Linked DNA regions of Homo sapiens: region 1 is linked to region 2. The links are contacts of gene promoters, found by promoter capture Hi-C in blood cells and fetal thymus (Javierre and others, 2016). All regions are on one chromosome and are shown on one strand. Each heading gives the region's core, a stretch centred on a gene start or on the middle of the fragment in contact. The rest is flanking DNA. Distances are from core to core; before and after follow the strand shown. Region 1 overlaps ZNF791 (zinc finger protein 791). Region 2 holds the start of ZNF433 (zinc finger protein 433).

Region 1 (4,686 bases), core at 647-3,146, 600 kb after region 2:
CAATAGACTGTACCATATAGTCTAGATGTGTTGTAGCTATACCATCTAGATTTGTGTAAGTTCACTTTGTGATGTTTGTACCATGAGGAAATCACCTACAACACGTTTCTCAGAACATATACCCATGATTAAGCAATCTCTGCCTGTAAAATGCTCCAGAAAATTCACACCATGATATAAATTCATCACACACGATATAAAAGTTAAGGCAAGGCATGGTGGCTCATGCCTGTAATCCCAGCACTTTGGGAGGCCAAGGCAGGCAGATCACCTGAGGTCAGGAGTTCGAGACCAGCCTGGCCAAGACGGTGAAACCCCATCTCTACTAAAAATACAAAAATTACCTGAGCGTGGTGGCATGCACCTGTAATTCCAGCTACTTGGGAGGCTGAAGCAGGAGAATCATTTGAACCTGGGAGGTGGAGGCTGCAGTGAGCTGAGATTGTGCCACTACACTCCAGCCTGGGCAACAGAGCAAGACTCCATCCCACACACCAAAAAAAAGTTAAAAATTTTTTATCACTGGCTCATTCTTCAAGTACATCTCTGGACTATGAATTGTAACTTAACTACTTTTCCAAGAAGTCTTGGAAGTGAGATAATTCTGTAAGTACTCTTTAAGCAGTGGTCAAAAGTTTAAAAGGTTGTGTTTTCTCATTAAATCAGTTAGTAAAACTTTTCTCTTTCTCTTGATGTCTTGATTCATGAGTAAACTGAAGTGTATTTTTTTTTTTTCGAGACGGAGTCTTGCTCTGTTGCCCAGGCTGGAGTTCAGCGGTGTGATCTCGGCTCACTGCAAGCTCCGCCTCCCGGGTCCACGCCATTCTCCTGCCTCAGCCTCCCCAGTAGCTGGGACTGCAGGCGCCCGCCACCATGCCCAGCTAATTTTTTTTGTATTTTTAGTAGAGATGGGGTTTCACCGTGTTAAGCCAGGATGGTCTCAATCTCCTGACCTCGTGATTCGACCGCCTCAGCCTCCCAAAGTGCTGGGATTACAAGCTTGAGCCACCGCACCCGGCCTGAAGTGTATTTTTTTTTTCTTTTAAAGACCAGTGTTAGTAGAAGTGTATTTTTAATATACAATTAGTTTTAATTTGTGTATAGTTTTTCAGTTGTTCTCTGAATAAAGAGATTGTTGAATACTGACACACTGTAACTAGGATTTTTCCTACTGGCCTCATGTGGAAGGTGGTGCATATATTACCCATTATATATTTATTTCACCTTTTCCGAAAAACTGCTTTTTAAATTTCTTGGCCAGACACGGTGGCTCACTCCTTTGTAATTCCAGCACTTTGGGAAACCAAGGCAAGCAGATCACTTGAGGTCAGGAGTTCGAGACCAACCTGGCCAACATGGTGAAATCCCATCTCTACTAAAAATACAAAAATTAGCTGGGCATGTTGGAGGGCACCTGTAATCTCAGCTACTTGGGAGGCTGAGGCAGGAGAAATGCTTGAACCTGGAAGTCAGAGGTTGCAGTGAGCCAAGATCACACCACTGCACTCCAGCCTGGACAACAGAACGAGACTCCATATCAAAAAAATTAAATTAAAATATAATAAATTTCTTGCCGGGCGCAGTGGCTCACACCTGTAATCCCAGCACTTTGGGAGGCCGAGGTGGGCGGATCACGAAGTCAGGAGATTGAGACCATCCTGGCTAATACAGTGAAACCCCGTCTCTACTATAAATACAAAAAATTAGCTGGGCATGGTGGCGGGCGTCTGTAGTCCCAGCTACTCAGGAGTCTGAGGCAGGAGAATGGTGTGAACCCGGGAGGCGGAGCTTGCAGTGAGCCGAGATCGTGCCACTGCAATCCAGCCTGGGCAGCAGAACGAGACTCCATCTCAAATAAATAAATAAATAAAATGAATTTCAGCTAGAAGAGCCTTATTCCATTTTCCTTTTTATTAAACATCTGGCATAAGTTGGTAAGTATGTGAAGTTTATCATATATTCTTATGCGAATTATTATTTTCGCCTTTTTTTTATAATTCTGTCTGGGATTTGAATAGTAGAGTTTGAATTCAGGAAGGACACCTGTGATAGGACAATAAAATCTAGAGCTGGACGTGGCCCTCCTGCTACCTGTCGACACAGGTAAATTTCCTAGAATCTGTTCCCTTTATAGATCCATGTTGAAATTCACTTATAGCCTCACTTGCATGAGATTTGCCAGGCAGAAGTGAAGAAGACATTAGTCAGGTATTGGAACCCCACCATACAGGGAGACAGCCTGCTTCCTGCTCATTTTCCTGGTTATTTTCTCTGCCAATCAAAAGTATCCTGAAAACACCCTGAGCTGCTTGACTTCCATTCTCAAAGAGATGTGTTGGTTTCCACAGTTGTCTCCACAAGCTCCGCATCAAAGATCCACGTACAGTTTGGATTTTCCTTCTAGCCTTCATGTGTGGCCCAAGCATCTATTTCAGACTGTCATGGTTGGCATTGTTCTCTGAGGTTCTGTCTTCCCTTTGTGTTTCTATGAGCTTTAATTTGTATGGTTCTTGTTCTGTTAATGCCACTAGGGACTATGTATTCCTGATTCCACCATGACAGCTACAGTAAAACAGTAAAAAAAAAAAAAAACAACTATATGGGAGTTTGTTCTCTTACTGCATTATACAGTGACTACTCTCCCCCATCCTTCCATTTGAGAATAATCACCTTCCTCATATCAGACAAATTGTGGGTGTTTCCAACTATTCCTGAATATTCTCCATCGGTTTATTTTCATTTATGTTTGGTTGTATGCAACTAAAATAATGCATTTTTTATTTATTTGAAGCAAAAGCTTCTTAGATGTTTCTTAGAAATATTTTGTTAACTGTTTCCAAACAACATGTATACTATCAAATATTATCATCATCTGGGTGCAGTGGCTCATGGCTGTAATCCCAACAATTTGGGAGGCTGAGGCAGGATTGCTTGAGGCCTGAAGTTGGAGACCAGCCTGGGCAACATAGTAAGACCCCATCTCTATTAGTTCAAAAACAAATAATTGTCTTCCCCGTTTCCTGAAAGGCTATATTAAAATATCCCATTACAGTTATGAATATTCAGATCAACTTTGTCATTTTGTCAAGATACATTCTGACTCAATATTAGCATGTGCATAAATGTTCTGGTATTTTTCCCTTAGATGTTTTTTATTCTTATACTTACATTTTGTCATAAAACAAAATTCTCTTCAAAACAGTGGTATTTTCAGTGCCCTATTGCCAGCAATCACCACGGTCACACCTGTATTCAGAATTAATTATGGTAATACAGTAGTCAATTCTGATCCAAAGTTTTGCTTTCTGTGGTTTTAGTCACTCATGGTCAAACACAGTCCAAAAATACTTAGTGGAAAATTCCAGAAATAAATGTTTCATAGACTTATTTATTTATTTATTTATTTGAGACAGAGTCTCACTCTGTCGCCTAGGCTGGAGTGCAATGGCGCGATCTCAGCTCACTGAAACCTCTGCCTCCGAGGCTCAAGCAATTCTCCTGCCTCAGCCTCCCGAGTAGCTGGGATTACAGGCATGTGCCAACATGCCCAGCTAATTTTTGTATTTTTGGTAGAGATAGGGTTTCACCATGTTGGTCAGGCTGGTCTGGAACTCCTAGCCTCAGGTGATCCACCCACCTCAGCCTCCCAAAGTGCTGGGATTCCTCCCATCTTACACATGAAAAAACAGAGGCAGAGAGAGCACAGGGTCTTTCCCAAACTCATGTAAATCAGAATTATAGAGTCTCAAAGTTTTGAAGTTCTAGTGTGTTCCACCACCTGTCAAACTTTTTTTTTTTTTTTGAGATGAGGTCTTGCTCTATCACCCAGGCTAGATTGCAGCGGTGCGATCATAGTTCACTGTCACCTTGACTTCTGGGGAGTGATCCTCCTGCCTCAGCCTCCCAAGTAGTTGGGACTGCAGGTGCATGCTTCCATAAGCGGACTTAGAAAATTTGAATGAGGCCGTACTGGGTGCCTCATGCCTGTCATCTCAACACTTTAGGAGGCTGAGGTGGGAGGATGGTTTGTGCCCAGGAGTTCCACGTGGCAGTGAGCTGTGATTACACCACTGCACAGCAACCTGGGCGACAGTGAGGCTCAGTCGTGTTGAAAAAAGAAAAGACAGAGAGAGAAAGAAAAGAAAAAGAGAGAAAGAAAGAAAAAGAAAGGAAAGAGAAAGAAAGCAAAAGAAAGAAAAGCAGAGATATGAGAGAAGGAAGGAAGGAAGGGAAGGAGAAAAAAGGAAAAAAAAAAAGAACTGAGACCCCATCTCTACAAAAGTAAAAAATTAGCTGGGTGTGGTGGGGCACACCTGTGATTCCAGCTACTCCAGAGGCTGAGGTGGGAGGATGGCTTGAGCCCAAGAGTTCGAGCCTGCAGTGAGCCATGATCATGCCACTGCACTCAGACCTGGGTGACACAGTTCATGTCAGCCACCTTCCAAAACAGGCAAGAATGCTATGTGTGTCATAGCCTATAATTTGTACCACATTAAGGTTGCTTTGATCTAGGGCAGAACTTATGAGTCCTTTTTTTTTTTTTTTTTTTTTTTGAGAAGGAGTCTTGCTCTGCCACCCAGGCTGGAGTGCAGTGGCGCGATATTGGCTCACTGCAAGCTCCGCCTCCTGGGTTCACGCCATTCTCCCACCTCAGCCTCCTGAGTAGCTGGGACTATAGGCACCCGC
Region 2 (4,641 bases), core at 1,043-3,542:
GCACCTGGCCAGTGCATTTTCATTTACGAGGCTGAGGCAGGAGAATGGCATGAACCCGGGAGGTGGAGCTTGCAGTGAGCAGAGATTGTGCCACTACACTCCAGCCTGGGCGACAGAGCGAGACTCCGTCTCAAAAAAACAAAAACAAAAAACGGGCCAGGCGCAGTGACTCACACCTGTAATCCCAGCACTTTGGGAGGCCAAGGCGGGTGGATCACAAGGTCAGGAGATCAAGACCATCCTGGCTAACACAGTGAAACCCCGTCTCTACTAAAAATACAAAAAATTAGCCAGGCGTGGTGACGGGCTCCTGTAGTCCCAGCTACTTGGGAGGCTGAGTCAGGAGAATGGCGTGAACCCGGGAGGCGGAGCTTGCAGTGAGTAGAGATCGCGCCACTGCACTCCAGCCTGGGTGACAGAACAAGACTCTGTCTCCAAAAAAAAACAAAAACAAAAACAAATAGTTGATACTACAAATTGAAGAAGGAGAGTTGGTGTCTGCAAATTTTAGAAAGGAACTGAAATTTTAGTATTGTACTGCAAGCTCTCCAGAGGTAGGCCAGGGTCACAGGGTGGAGGGTTTGAGATCTCACTTCCCATATATTTGGAAAATGCAGAGAAGTACCAGTTAACTGGGGAGTGTTGAAAATTTTGAATAAGAAGTAATTAAACTTAATGCCTATAGTACTCTAAGATCTTGGCCAAGAACATGGAAATCAAATTCAAATGCTATTCATATAAAGTACTAACTTATGTGACGGTATGTGGCCTGAGAAAACAATAACAAGTTACTAATTTATTGGGAAATGAAATATGGGCTTAACCAGGTACAATTGGTCGAGTAACCTCTGATTATACAACCAAAAATTTTCCACTGTATGGTCTGTGAAAATAAGTAATTCAAAAATTGAAGCTGTTGGAACTCTAAATTATCTTGAAGTTTAAAGTAATGTGACTCTGGAATTGAGTCACCTGACACTGGAAAGAGCCAGCTGGAACCCTCCCACACTTGACTACAGATTAACCATCAGACAGGCTTCACTATACCTGGACAGGCCTCATTATACCCGCTTCCTTTAGGAGTTTCCACATAGCCACTGACCCACCTTCATGTTAAAACAGACATCAGCCAACTGGAAACACAGACTCTCTGTGACAATAAGAAACCAAATTACAAACAAGACCTAAGGCCATGCAAGGCAAGAGGTAAGTCAAATCTTAGAATTCACAAAATCTAAAGAAACAGGTCTTTTGTTTTGGGTGGGATGAAATCATATGACAGATACCAGACCCTCTTCACTTAAGCAATCCTTCCTACCGCCTCGAAGTTTTAGACAAAGCTTCACACTCTCCACCAACGGCCACCTTCAGAATCCCTCAACCACCTGCACCTTCTAACCCCCCTTCCACAGGTCCCGCCCTTTCTGCCAAAGGAACTTACACCTTTCCAGGCATTGATGCATGATTCTCCCTGCAATTCCTGTCTCCCTGAAATGAATAAAAACAGTCTTGAGCCGCCTCGGGACCACTTACTTCAGGCCTCCTGGGGTTGTGTTTTCCTCAGCTGAGGCCTCTCCTATTCGGCTCTGAATAAACTTCTTTAAGTTATTTTACACAGCTTGGCATTTTCCGTTAACAAATTACAAGCCAGGACTGGGTGTTTATCATTCAGGAATCTCAAAGGAACTCTAATTATTAATATATTTTTTAAAACCTATTCTGAGAAGCAAAACTATAATTGTTAACGTGTCTCAGTTTAATTTTTAAGAGGAGAAAGGCGCTACTGGGGACCCCACAGCCCACCCTCCTCCTACACAAACCCCCACACCCGAGGCGGGATCCCCCCATGACCCTCGCGTAGTCCCCGCACAATGTGGGGAGACGCGGGGCAGCGGGCGCGGAGCTGCCCAGAGAGGGCTCTGGGAACTGGGTGACAGTCACCGCGCAGGGACAGGACGAGACGCCCGGGTCCCGGCGGCCGGCCCAGCCCCACTGTGGGGCCAAGGGGACCAAGGGCCGAGCTGTCCCACGGGAAATCGGGTCCCAGACCCCGGAGTCGCCGCGGGGAGGCCCGGGTCCCACCACAGCCGGTTCCGGCCGGTTCCAACCAGCTCCTCCCCCGCCTCGGGACCCCTGGCCCGCACGCTCACCATTTCTTGCCTTTCAGGTGACTCCCACGACCAGTGCGGGTCACAGCACAGGCGACAGAAGCTATGGCAGAGGCACCTGAACCCTCTCGGAGGGGAAAGCCAGGCTCCCAACCTCAGCTCGCCGCCTGGAGCCGGGAACCGAGGAGAGCAGGGCCTTCGCCCTCCCCGATGGACACTCGGCAGGCCCCGCCCAGCGCCCCTGATTGGACGAAGCGCCGGGCCCCGCCCCCTCAGCCGTGAGTGACAATAGAAGCCCTTGGTAACGGGGCTCTGAAAACGGGTTTGACCGGATCCAGCGATAGATTCTTTAAGCCAGAGGTCTGTAACCTTTTTAGCACCAGAACCGGTTTCGTGGAAGACAGTTCTCCTACGGGGGCAGATAGTTTCGGAATGAAACTTCCACCTCAGATCAGGCATTTTATCCTCATAAGGCGAACCCAACCTAGATCCCTCGCATGTGCAGCTCACAATAGGGTTCGGGCTCCTATGACAGACTAATGCCTCTGCTGATCTGACAGGAAGCATATCTCTGGCGATAATGCCCGCTGGCTCGCCCGCCAGCCGCTCACCTCCTGCTGTGCGGACTGGTTCCTTACAGGCCATGGACCGGGGGTTGGGGACCCCTGCCATAGAGTACTGTTGAATAGAAACTTTAGCTCGTCCGGCGGTGGGCTGGGGGGGTGGGGGTAGCTCATGCCTGTAACCCCACCACTTTGGGAAGCCAAGGCAGGCAGATTGCTTGAGCCTAGGAACTTAAGCCCAGCCTGGGTAACATAGCAAAACCCCGCCTCTACAAAAAATACAAAAATTAGTCGGGCGTGGTGGTACATGTTTGCAGTCCCAGCTACTCGGAAGGCTGAAATGAGAGGATCGCCTGAGCCCAGAGAGGTCGAGGCCACAGTGAGCTGTGATTTTACCAGCCTGGATGTCAGAGTGAGACCCTGTCTCCGAAAAAAAAAAAAAAAAAAAAGACAGGGAATTGCAGTGGAGTTTAATATACATAGAGCCGGCTAAATGAAAGAGAAGAGTTTTATTTTTATTCAATTCTGTCTCCCTAAAAAATGGGAGGCTAGGTTTTGTTTTTTTGGTTTTTTTTTGAGACGGAATCTCTCTGTCGCCCATGCTGGAGTGCAGTGGCGCAATCTCGGCTCAGTGCAACCTCCGCCTCCCGGGTTCAAGCGATTCTCCTGCCTCAACCTCCTGAGTAGCTGGGATTACAGGCATGCGCCACCATGCCCGGCTAATTTTTGTATTTTTAGTAGAGACGGGGTTTACCATGTTGGTCAGGCTGGTCTCAAACTCCTGACCTCATGATCCACCCGCCTCGGCCTCCCAAAGTGCTGGGATTACAGGCCTGAGCCCCCGCACCCGGCCGAGGCTAGGGTTTTAAAGATAATTTGGTGAGCAGAAGGCTGGAAAATGGGGAATGCTGATTGGTCGCGAAAAGGATATCACAGGAAGTCTCAGCTGTCTTCTTGCACTGAGTCAGTTCTTGGCTAGGGGCCACTGGAGCAGGTGAGCCAGTTTATTGGTCTGTGTGATGCCAGCAAATTTATCAGAATGAAGGGTCTCAAAAATACCTCAAACACCAATCTTAGGTCTTACAACAATAATATTATCCACAGGAGCAAGTGAGAAGGTTGGGAATCTTGTGTACTCTGGCCGCATATTTCCTGAACCATAATTTCTAATCTTGTGGCTAATTTCTTAGTTTTACAAAGGCAATCTGGTTCCCAAGCAAGGAGACAATTTCTTTACGGAAGCGGCAGTTATGACTTTTGCTTTAAAGCTAAACTAAACTCCTTCCAATATTAGTAAGACCTATACCCGGGAATGAACAAGGGTAGCTTGGAGGCTAAAGAAAAGATGGAGTTCGCTTAGATCTGATCTCTTTCACTGTCATAATTTTCTCACTGTTATAATTCTTGCAAAAGGGTTTTCAGATGTAGAGTCATACTTTTAGCTCCTGGCAACATTTATGTTGGAACTCTTATACAGCAACTAAATCACTGGAACAGGATAATTGGTTGAGGATTTACTAACTGCTCCATCAGGTGGAAGTGGCACTCCTTACTAATTTACCTGAAAGCACTATTTCCTGAGCCATGGAGACTGAGTATAGCAATGATATGTGATCTAAAGAAGTTCCCACTCTGCTTCTTCTCTGCAGTGAAGTCCTGCCAGGCACGTTACTACTTCCACTGCCACTTTTTCCTCCTCCAAATGTGGCTAAGCAATTACTTCCCTTATGGAAGACTGTACAAAGATGAAAACATGGCTAGGTTGATGGGGTCACTCTGAGACAAGGTAGACTTATGTTATACTTTTTGCAAAGGTGACTTCAGATATGGAATCATAATTTTAGCTGCTGGCAGCAATGATGTTGGAATTCATATACAGACACTAAATGACTGGAAAAGGACAATTGGTTGAAGGTTTACTAATTGTTCCCTCAAGAGGAAGTGCCATTCCCTATTGATTTAATTGACAG

Evidence for each region. Contacts are between HindIII fragments. The CHiCAGO score rates a contact against its expected background, and 5 or more counts as called.
Region 1: a fragment that was not itself captured here is called in contact with the fragment with the promoter of ZNF433 in region 2 in 3 of 17 cell types (megakaryocytes, erythroblasts and endothelial precursors); the score reaches 8.3 in megakaryocytes.

What each region holds. Positions count from the first base shown.
Region 1 is chr19:12,631,243-12,635,928 of GRCh38, forward strand. It overlaps ZNF791 (zinc finger protein 791), which reads left to right. Exons shown (of 4, transcript NM_153358.3): 4 at 1-2,592. LOC105372279 (a long non-coding RNA gene) reads right to left here. Exons shown (of 4, transcript XR_007067142.1): 4 at 1,897-3,246. Among named protein-coding and RNA genes, the nearest start is that of ZNF791, 23 kb to the left of the region's middle. The HindIII fragment of the contact is 1,798 bases long and covers 998-2,795 here.
Region 2 is chr19:12,033,387-12,038,027 of GRCh38, forward strand. ZNF433 (zinc finger protein 433) reads right to left here and starts at 2,293. Exons shown (of 4, transcript NM_001308348.2): 1 at 2,151-2,293. The coding sequence starts at 2,153. ZNF433-AS1 (ZNF433 and ZNF878 antisense RNA 1) reads left to right here. Exons shown (of 3, transcript NR_134929.1): 2 at 2,168-2,386. RefSeq lists silencers at 1,828-1,947, 1,958-2,007, 2,248-2,407. The HindIII fragment of the contact is 7,472 bases long and covers 1,339-4,641 here.